Linked DNA regions of Homo sapiens: region 1 is linked to region 2. The links are contacts of gene promoters, found by promoter capture Hi-C in human tissues and cell types (Jung and others, 2019). All regions are on one chromosome and are shown on one strand. Each heading gives the region's core, a stretch centred on a gene start or on the middle of the fragment in contact. The rest is flanking DNA. Distances are from core to core; before and after follow the strand shown.

Region 1 (4,961 bases), core at 989-3,488, 260 kb before region 2:
CAGGCTGGAGTGCAGAGGTGCAGTCTTGGCTCACTACAACCACCGCCTCCCAGGTTGGAGCAATTCTCCTGCCTCAGACACCCTAGTAGCTGGTATTACAGGCACATGCCACCACGCCCGGCTGATTTTTGTATTTTTAGTAGAAACGGGGTTTCACCATGTTGGCCAAACCGGTCTCCTGACTTCAAGTGATCTGCCTGCCTGGGCTTCCCAAAGTGCTGGGATTACAGGCATGAGCCACCCACCCAGCCTTTATTTTTATTTTTTGAGTCTAGGTTTTGCTCTGCTGCTCAGGCTAGAGTGCAGTGGCATGATGACGGCTCAATGCAGCCTTGAACTCCTGGGCTCAAGTGATCCTACCACCTCTGCTTTCCAAAGTGCTGAGATTACAGGCATAAACCACCTTGCCTGGCCTGAGCCCTGAGGCTTCTGAAGGGGAAAGTAGGAGAGAAATCAGGTAAAACCATCACAGTCAGACAATAAGGGTGCAGGCACAAGGGAGTGGAAGGGGCAGAAAGAAAGTAGGCCAAACACTCAGAAAATCATCTGTCTGGATAAATGAGTCTCCTCCTGACACAGCAATAAGAATTTCTCTGAAGCTTGGTGCTCTCAGAGGTCCCAGGGCTGTAGCAGGTAAGTGACCTGTTTTGTTTATAGATAAAAAAAAGTCAAAGGTCAGAAATGTTGCCATGTGGCCTGATTTATTACTTATTTATTGGTTTGTTTGTTTGTTTTCTATTGGGCAGCCTCCTGAGCCAGAGTAGGCTGAGAGACTTCCCCTGTGGCCTGATTTAGTGTGATAAAATATGTACACTTTGGGAAGTAACTTTCCTCAGAGTCCTCCCAGCCTGAGGGGGCAGCCATGAGTCCAGAGGAGAGGCTTAAGAGACTAGGGGGTCAGGGGAGGGCCGAACTTGTCTAGGGAGACCCTGGGAAGTAGTGAGTGACTTCCCAGGGTCACTGGGAAGAGGACCCCACTGTCCTCATCTCAATCCCATCTACTGACCAGCCTTGATCCACTTAGTTTTCTCAGCAAATTAGGCAGAGTGATGTTAAGGCATTGCATGCTTTCTAGCATTCAGAAATCAGCAAGTTCAGAAAGTGTGATCTTGGAGTTCTAGCCAAAAAGGAGTCTGCATGTCCCTCCAACTCTTCCTACTTAGCCTTTTTAAAAACAAAAACAAATCTAGTTCTCTGAGACACAGCTTTGTTCTGACTTCTCCCTTTTCCATGTCCAGGCCCACACCCCATCTGATGTTGCTGAAAGTGCTGTCCTGACCATAGACTTAGTATCTGGCCGAGTTGAGTGGTAGGACAGGCTCAGTAGTGCACAGGGCTCCCCAGTGGTGCTGCTGAAGCTAACAGCCCTGATAACATGAGTGGCAGCCTGCTCTCTGTGTCTCAAGCACTTTCACATTTGCCATCTCACGGGGTCCTCCCAAGGACTGGTCACACCGGGAAGGCAGCTTTACTTACTGTGCTGCTGCAGAGGCAGTGAAGCTACTGGGAACTGAAATCCTCTGCCTGCCAGCTTCCATCCCACCCCTTGCACTGAGGACAGAAGGAAATAGGCCCAGGAGTAGGCAGCAAAGAATTAAAGCCATGTTAGTGAGCAGCTGATGAGGAGACAGGAGACTGCTAAGTTTAGTGGCCTGGGTCGGGGAGACTGGGGCTGATCCCCAAGTTTGCCCATGAAGGGGTTCCAACTCAGAGGCAGTGTCCTGGGGGTACAGCCCAGGCCTTGGCCCTTGCCCCTCCCCATCGGAATATTCTCCTTAAAGCCCACACTCCTTGCCCTCTGTGCCCATAAAGGAGAAGGAATCGAGAGTCTTGGACCAGAACTCGAAGTCACTGCAGCCACCAACCAAAGCCCCCTCCCCACCCAAGTCCACCAGGCCAAGCCAGCTTTTCCTATTGCCTAGGTGCTGGCGGGGGGCGGGGGAGGGGCGGGTACCTTCCCCCCAGTGCACTCGTCCAGAGGTGGGGCTTCCGAAGCTCGCCGGGACCTCCAAGTTCCTCTCCCGGGGAACTGCCCCGCCCCCTCTCTTCCCGCGGGGGGCCAGTACCTGAGGAAGCGGACACCCTGCAACCTGGCTTCCTGCCAACTCCGAGAGAGGGCGGCCCGGGCCCCCAGCACCCCCGAGCTCCCGGCGCACAGCCTCCCCAGGCGCAGCATCCCGACGTAGACAGCCATGGCTCGCTTTGCCCTGCGTCCCGGCCCGAGTAAACTTTTAAAGTGAGCCGGGGCGGGGCGGGCGCGCAGCGGGCGGGGAGGCGGGGAGGGTGGCCTCTGCCTATGGGGTGCGGCGGATTCGGTCTCCGCCGGCGGGGCGGGGCGGGGCGCGGCGGCGGCGACTTCGCGCGGGGCCACCTTCCCCTCCGACCCCGCGGCCCTCCCCCTCCCACCCTCGAAGAATAGCCCTGGTTTCCTCTGGATCCGAAGGCCCCAGCTGCAGTCCGAAACAGATCTTCCTCGCGACCATCCTCAGGGGCCTGGATGTTAGAAGCGCAAAAATTTGTTGATTTCCTAGAGGGAGAGCCAGCAGCACATCCGTGAGGGGCCAGATGGCAAGGTCAAGATCCATCCATCCCCTGCCCCCTCGGGTCACGTGCTGGCCCCGCTACTTGCGAGCCGGGGGCCAAAGGAGCAGGCGCGAAGCGTCCTTGAGGCATGCCAGCTGGAGCAGAGGGCCCCGCGGGGTTGGGGAGGCAGCCAGAACAAAGGGTGTCGCGGGTGAGCCCCCTGCGGGCCCGCTGGCGCCAGAGTCCCAGCTGAGGCCAGATGTCAGCTTCAGAAGGAACACCAGTTGTACCCCATCTCACAGGAGGCATCCTCCCATCCCTCCTCGGCGCCTCTGCCTTGACCTTCTGCACAGGGTTGGGGGCCGGACACGTAAGGTGGCCTCAGGGACTGGGACCTGTGTATTTCATCCTCCATCTGCCTGTCTTGGGGCCTGTGGCACAGTTCCCTGTGCTGCCCCAGGTGTGAATGGAAAGCAACCCTATGCCCCTCCTTAGGGTTCCTGAGGCCCAGGGGTGAGTGGGGTACTAAGACCTGGGCAGAGCTGCGGGACAGAGAAGGTGATAGCTCTGGTCCTGGCTAGGAAAAGTGGCACTGGGCACCAAAGAGTAGCACAGTTTATACCTGTTCCAGGTCCACACTGCCTCGGCCTAGCCATGACTCTTCCTCTAGAGAAGGAGCTGGAGAAGAATGGGGCAAAGGCCCTGGCAGTGTGACCTCCCCTCTCCTGACTGGAGGAGATGAAGTAAACCCTGCCAGGCAGAAGGGGTGGCTGAGAGTGGAGCCTGGCCTGAGGTGACCTTTGCCCTTATCTGGGAACTCTGGCTCCACTTGGGTCATGAGAAGGAGTCCATGCTGGGCCTCTTTATGATCTTGAGCGTGACCTCAAATCCTCCCTGGAACCCCGGTTCCTAGGGAGGGTCCCCACACTTCAGTTTCTGTGGGGTTGGGGCAGGAAGAGACAGAGGAACAAAGAGATCACCGGAGGCTGGGCCTGCAAGGGTGTGCTTTCCTAATTAGACTAACTGTCTTTGATAGCGGACCAGGGAATGTGGAGGGCTGGGGCATTCACAAGTCTGGGTTCCCAGCCGTGGCTGGCAGGCTTAGCCTCTAGCATGCTGGGTGACCCTGGGTAAACCACTGTCCCTCTCTTGGCCTATGAAGTGTGGGGTGGGTACTGATCTTGTAGGTCCTTCCACTCTTCTGGCTAGTTTGAGGGTCAGTCCTAGAGTGGGAGAGAAGTGAGTTCCTCCTTGAACTTTGCTCCAGCCTCGGCTTTTCAAGACACTGGGCTTTCCTGACTCTTCCTAGGTGCACAGGCCGTGGCATCATAGCCATCAGTTTCAGGGTATCTTGTACATGCCAGGCTCTTCAAGGACATTTTCTCTGACCCTCACAAACACCCTGCAAGGAACAGGCATGGCTTGGAATGTGTCTTTGTTTTTATGGATGAAGAAACTGAATCCCAAAGAGGTTCAGCTTCTTAAACATAGGCCAAAGCTCTGCCAGTAGTCTCTTTGTGGCTTTGGGCAAGTCACGGGGCCTCTCCAGCCTCGTTATCTGTCAAATGGGGATAATAATACCAACTTCACGCAGAGGGCTGGGTAAGAATTGAGTAGGTGGCACAGAACTGGTAGTCGGCCAGTTTTCAGTGATTGTTTCTTTTTCCATCCTCTCCTTCCTCTTGTGTCTTCACTCTAAGACCTTCCTCTGTGTAGGAATTGCAAACCTTTTTTAGGAGGGAGAATTGTTTTATTTGTGCAAAGCCCTGGTAGGCACTGGTTCTGTGGATGGGGAGGAGGGCTGGGAGAAAGTCAAGACGGCTGGTGGAAGTCCGTGAGTCATGGTGGGGGAATCACGTTGACCCGCATTCTTTGGCTAGTATAAGGAAGTGGGGAGCAGGGCAGTGGGCCATCCAGGCTCTCCAGCTTCCCTTCCCTTCCCTTTAACCAATTAAATTCCCCGTTGCTCCCCAAGGGGCCTTCTGCCTGAGCCATCACATCTCCTTTATGCTGCATGTGACTTGCATGATTTATGGTCCCTGTAATTTGGCTCATGCCATTGGCTACCATGAGAAAGCCCTTATTCCCGCCCCTTTGCCCATGTCTTGCTTCTGTGCTTCAAAAGCAGGCTCAAAATGTAAACACCATTTATTGATTTTTTTTCTTTCATAACATCAACCTACAGAAGACCTAGTCACAGTTACAGAATAGAATGTAAATGTAAGTATCACTAACTTTGGAAGTTACATCTGATAGTAGTTGAGAGGGAAGGGGTGGGGGAGAGTATAAAATAAAAAAAAAGGGTATGTCATTATGTACAAAAATAATAATAAAACTATAGTACCAGCACTTAGGGAGGAGAGATGGGGTGCAAGTACCCATTTATCAAACAGAAAATCTAAAACTGGCAAAATAAGTATGTCATTTAGAGGCAAGTA
Region 2 (5,547 bases), core at 8-2,507:
AGCGCTTCCTTTGCTGCCTCCCAGGAAGGGATTGGGGTGGGGATGGGGGAGCAAGCCCTGCTGGGCTAGACATTTTAATCGTCTGGGTTTCGGGATTCGAGGGAGAACCTCTCCCACAACCTTTCCATTCCTTGTTTTAGGCCCCTATTAATGGTGCAGTGGGCAGGGACTGATGTTTGACTGGGAAGTGTGTGTGTGAGGGTGTGTGTGTGTGTGAGGGGATGTGGGGGGGTGTGTGTGTGAAGGTATGTGTGAGGGTCTGTGAGGATGTGTGTGAGGGTGTGTGTGCAAGTGAGTGTGTGTGAGAGGGTGTGTGTGAGGGTGTGTGTGTGTGAAGGTGTGTGTGGGGGGTGTGTGTTTGCGGGGGGTGTGTGGGGGTATGTGGGGGTATGTGGGGGTGTGTGTGGGGGGTGTGTGTGACGGTGTGTGGGGTGTGTGTGTGACGGTGTGTGTGAGGGTGTGTGTGTGAGGGTGTGTGAGGGTGTGTGAGGGTGTGTGTGTGAGGGTGTGTGAGGGTGTGTGAGGGTGTGTGTGAGGGTGTGTGTGTGAGGGTGCCGTGAGGGTGTGTGTGAGGGTGTGTGTGGGTGTGTGTGTGTGTGAGGGTGTGTATGTGTGAAAGGCACTGGGAAAAGAATCCCATGCTAAATGCCCAAGAGCCCAGAGGAGAGGAAGACGGGGCCAGGAGCCTACAGAGGAGGAAGGGTAGCCATTCTGGGCCTGGAGACCCCCACCTTCCTCCCCTAAAATACAGGGAAGAAGAAGGCCTGCCCTAGAGGCCAGTAGGAGCTGAGCAAAAGGAATCCTAAGTCCAAGAGAGGAGCAGAGGACCTGGCCGCCAGCTCCACCCTCCCTCCCAGGGCCAAATTTAGCCTGGGCTTAGAAGCTGCGGCCCAGCCAGCTCATTAAAGGGCCCACGACCCTTTGGGCCTGTGCTGTCAGACCCACCCGGGCCCTAGGACACCTCCAGCCCTCAGAGCTCCCAGCCCCTTCATCCCAGAGCCCAGCTCCCAGCCCCATTCCCTGGATCCCCAGCTGGCCATGGCATTAACACCCCAAAGCCCTTCTGGCGCCTGCCTCACCCAACCCAGATCCCTCTTCTGTGGGCCCTCCACACCTCCGTCTTACCACCCCTAAATCCTGCCCCCTCATCCTGGGCCTCCCCGCTGAACAAGGCCCCAACTTGCCCACGAGGAGAGGAGTCCAGAAGAGTGTCTCAGCCATGGCTGCCCGGCCTGGCCCGCCCGGTGAGTGACAGAGACAGGGGGCAGGGAGGAGAGGAGGGAAGGAGGGAGGTGGCTCGGGGCAGCTGGGTCCCAGCGTCAGCCTCCCCTCCCCGCCTGGAGCATGCACCAAATCTGGGATAGACACCCTCCTCGCACTCATTGTCCCTCCAACCGTCCCCTCCAGTGGCCACAGTGTTTTTTAAACCACCAACCAGGCCACCTCCATCCTCCCTTAAAACTCTAATGGTTCTCATGGCCCCTGAGTTCCCAGCTCATCCCCAGTTGGTGGCTTTCTGGCCTGTCCTGAACCTGGTCAGCTGGTCTAGAATCCCATCCTCTGCCCCTACCCTTCCAACCCCAGGCCCCTGCTCAGCCTCACTCCGCTCCTGCCTAGCTTGGCAGACTCTCTCAAGTCTCCAAGCCGTCGTCCAGGCTATTGCCTCTGCCTGCAGTTCCCTTCCCACCTTCATTCAAGCAGCAACCTTCCAGTCACCTTTCCAGACTCTGCACAGATGTCCTCTCCTCTCTGAAGCCTTTCTGACCTCCCTTCTTCTGCTAGGCCAAGCTGGGTGTCCCCTTAGCCCCTGCGTGCTTTCCTGGGCACAACACAATCACACAGACTGCTCCAAGCTCCTCGAAGACTAGGATCTTGTCACGTTTGTATCCTTGGGCCTGGCACAGGGCCTGGTAACTAGTAGGTGTAGCTGGCTGGCGGCAGCTTCCTTAACAGCAAACGTAGGTGCCATCCACCCAGCCTTTATCCCCAGTCCAAGCACTTCAGCGTGGAGGTCTAGCAAGCCCTGGACAGGACCAGCCAGCTAGAGACAGGTGAGCGGAGGAGGCACCCTCTCTGGCCCATGGAGTCAGGGTTCATTCGGCGCATAGACTTGGAGGCCTGGAGGTGGGCCACCTTGGCCACTTGCTGGGGATGAGGCCTTGAGTGCACCATTTGCCCTCTAGCCCATTTCCACAACTATAAACTGGCAAGAATAGTGCTTGCCTCTTGGCATCATTGTGAGGACTCCACAAAGTAATGAATGCAGCGCATATTTATGAAACACCTGCTATGTATCAGACATTGAAATTGCAAAGATAAGCAAACCTCTGCCCACATGGAGGTCACCTGCCAGTGGGTAATACCAGCTAGCGCTGCCAGCTACTGTGCTGAGAATCTTACATATATCTACCTATATTACCTCATTCCATCTCCTCAGCAGTTCCATGAGGCAGGTATTATTACTGTGCCCATTTAACAGATGATAAAACTGAGGCACAGGGGTGTATACCTTCCCCAAGGCCACATTGCTGATGAGTAGAATGCATGTGGACGGCTTAGCCCAGTGCCTGGCTCAGTCGATGACTGTGCTGCTGATGTACTTGCCCGGCCCTGCTTCCCCTTCCTTCTTGCCTCTGCCAAAGGATCTCAGTCCAGGGGCGATGGGGCGCGGTGTCCTCTCCCCAGGTCTCTCACTTAGGGCAGGCACAGGGGCACTCTCCCCAGGTGCCCTGAGAAGGGGGCGGGGACCTATGGCTGCCAGGGTTCCCAAATCCTTGGTGCCTGTGTGACCTCTCCTCCAGGGCCTCAAAAGGACAACAAAATACCCCAGGCAAGGATCACTTGGGTCCAGCCTAAGGGCACAGGTGTTGGCCTGCAGATGGGGTGACTGGTAGGCAGGTTACGCAGTCCTTGTCCCTTCCTCTCTCTCTCTCCACCTGACTGACCCGCTCATCCCTGGAGAGCCACCAAATTCCAGAGTCAGCGTCCCCTCAGGCAAGGCAGTATTTGTCCCAGCATCACCTGGCCATCTCTCTGTCTTCTCAGAGACAGAGGGAGGGAGGAAGAAAGGTTCTGGAGGCAGAGGAAGAGCCCAAGGGTTCTGGGGGAGCAGGCAGAAGTGCCAACCCCCTGGGCACCTGCCCAGCCTCACCCCTGAGCTTCTCCATGTGACTCCCCGCCCCCTGCCGTCCCCCTGGCTATTTTTGGAGCCACCCACTCAGCTGTCTTAAGGTAGCAGTGCCTGGCCCCAGTGTCACCAGGCCCACAGAGGCCAGCCTTCCTTAATGAAAAGCTGCAGCTACTTCCCCATCAGATCCTCCCTGCCCAATTCAAGGGAGCCAGGGACTGTCCCACAAGCCAGAAAGTCCCCAGAAACCCTTCTCAGGCCCCTCAGCCATCAGAGGACCTTCCCACTCAGAGCTGTCTGGATTGCAACCTGCTGCTTGTAACACACAGCACCTTCTGTCTATTGGGCCTAGGGGTGGGAAGGGAGGTCACAGGGTCTTTAAACTTCTTAGTTTGAAAAATTTGCAGCATACTATAATAAGCCCCCGTGTATCTGTCACCTGGCTTCAACAATTATCAACTCATGGCCAGTCTAGTTTCATCTGTACCCCTCCTGATTAATTTCATCCATCAATATTTCAGTGTGTATCTTTAAATGATAATGACTCTTTTTAACATAATCACATAACACGTTCAGCTATTAACATCATCAATAAAATTCCTTAATATCAAACTTCTAGTGTTCAAATTACCAATTTCTCATAAACATACATATTTTTACAGTGTATTTGTTTGACTCAAGATACAAAGAAGATACACACATTGCAACTGATTGATGATTTATAGGGCTTTTTTTTTTTTTTTTTTTGAGACAGAGTCTCGCTCTGTCACCCGGGTTGGAGTGCAGTGCCATGATCTCGGCTCACTGCCACCTCCACCTCCCAGATTCAAGCAATTCTCCTGCCTCAGCCTACAGGCACGTGCCACCATGCCCAGGGGTTTCACCATGTTGGCCAGGCTGGTCTCAAACTCCTGACCTCAAGTGATCCACCCACCTTGGCCTCACAAAGTGCTGAGATTACGGGCGTGAGCCACTGTGCCTGGCCAAGGCTCTTTTAAATTTCTTCAAATCTATAGGTTCCCATACATCCTTTCTCTCTCTTTTTTCCTTCCTCCCTTCCTTCCTTCCTTCCTTCATACTTTCCTTCCTTTCCTCCCTCCTTCCTTCCTTCCCTCCCTCCCTCCTTCTTCTTCCTTCTCTCCCTCCCTCCCTCCTTCTTCTTCCTTCTCTCCCTCCCTCCCTCCTTTCTTCCTTCCTTCCCTCCCTCCCTCCCTCCTTTCTTCCTTCCTTCCCTCCCTCCCTCTCCTTCCTTCCTTCCTTCCTTCCTTCCCTCCCTCCCTTCTCTTTCTCGTTCCTTGAAGGAGCCAGAAAATTTCTTCTGTAGTTTTTTGCCCTCTGGATTTTGCTGATTGCATCTCTATGGTGATCTTTAACATGTTCCTCCCACCTCCATACTTCCTGTACGTTGTATTTCCTGTACATTGTTACTGTAATTTGTAGTTGGATCTAGAGGCCTTATAAGGTTTATGTTCAATTTCCTTCGTTGAGACCACTTCATAGGTGGTGACAGTGTTCTTCCATTTGAAGGCACATCATGCGTTTCTGTGGTCTTAGTAGTGTCTTGCCTCCGCCATTAGCGTTTTATTTTTTGTGTGTGTGCAGAATAGTGATATTCAGATTTGATCACTCTGATCACCCCTTCCTTTATTAGCTGGAATAATTATAGACAGAAACTGCCCCTTGCGATTTGGTTACTGAGTGGGAAAGTTCGTAAAAGGAAGACGGGAGAAACGCTGGACTCTTCCTGTATTAAACAGTTTCTGAATAAAGAGCTGTTTCCCTAGCATCCTCCAAACTCTGGCCAGTCCGAGCTTCTTTGGTAGTAGTAGAATGATGATACATGGTTTACACCTATCTGACTGCTTCAGTCCATTGCAACTAGGGTCCCTTCTGGTGCTCACATTGCCTATCTTTAGCTCTCCGTTTTGTCATCCCCAGTTGGGGCGTCGGTCAGGAGAGCTGGAGGGGTCGGGGCTCGTACCCCACCTCGCACAGCTGGTGCCCTTGCCGTGCCCTAGGCTCCGCCGGTACTTCCCCGGCCTCCGCCTCACTCCTGCGGCCCAGCCCTGTCCTGAGCTAGTCGCTTCTCTGTCCTGGCCTTTTTGACATCCGCATCCGTCTCTCCAGCTTTCTGCCCCGTCTCTGCCCACCAGTGCCTAAATGTAAGCCCTCTGGTCCTTTGTCCCTGTATCTCCCCATCCCAGTGAATGTTTGCTGAATGAACGAATGACTGCTGTCCAGTGTGTCTCATTCAGCTTCAGTTTCTGTGCACCTGTCTCTAAGTCTCTTGAGGTCTGAGGCCGTGTTTTCTTTATCTGCATCTATACGTTGCCGTGAGGGACAAAGGAAAGGGCTTCTCGTCATTGTGATCTGATTCTCGCATCTGCCTCCCAGACTCCACCCACATCTTTCTCCCCTGT

What was found. Contacts are between HindIII fragments. The study calls those that stand out against the background at their distance.
Region 1: the fragment with the promoter of ACSF2 here is called in contact with the fragment with the promoter of SGCA in region 2 in 1 of the 25 tissues and cell types used here (adrenal gland).

The regions. Positions count from the first base shown.
Region 1 is chr17:50,423,495-50,428,455 of GRCh38, reverse strand. ACSF2 (acyl-CoA synthetase family member 2) reads right to left here and starts at 2,238. Exons shown (of 16, transcript NM_025149.6): 1 at 2,067-2,238. The coding sequence starts at 2,194. RefSeq lists a silencer at 2,106-2,425 and an enhancer at 2,162-2,706. The HindIII fragment of the contact is 9,502 bases long and covers 1-4,961 here.
Region 2 is chr17:50,161,715-50,167,261 of GRCh38, reverse strand. It overlaps SGCA (sarcoglycan alpha), which reads right to left and starts at 1,257. Exons shown (of 10, transcript NM_000023.4): 1 at 1,185-1,257. The coding sequence starts at 1,221. LOC105371818 (a long non-coding RNA gene) reads left to right here and starts at 905. Exons shown (of 4, transcript XR_934833.3): 1 at 905-1,244; 2 at 1,783-2,051. RefSeq lists enhancers at 3,163-3,663, 5,480-5,547 and a silencer at 5,530-5,547. The HindIII fragment of the contact is 20,868 bases long and covers 1-5,547 here.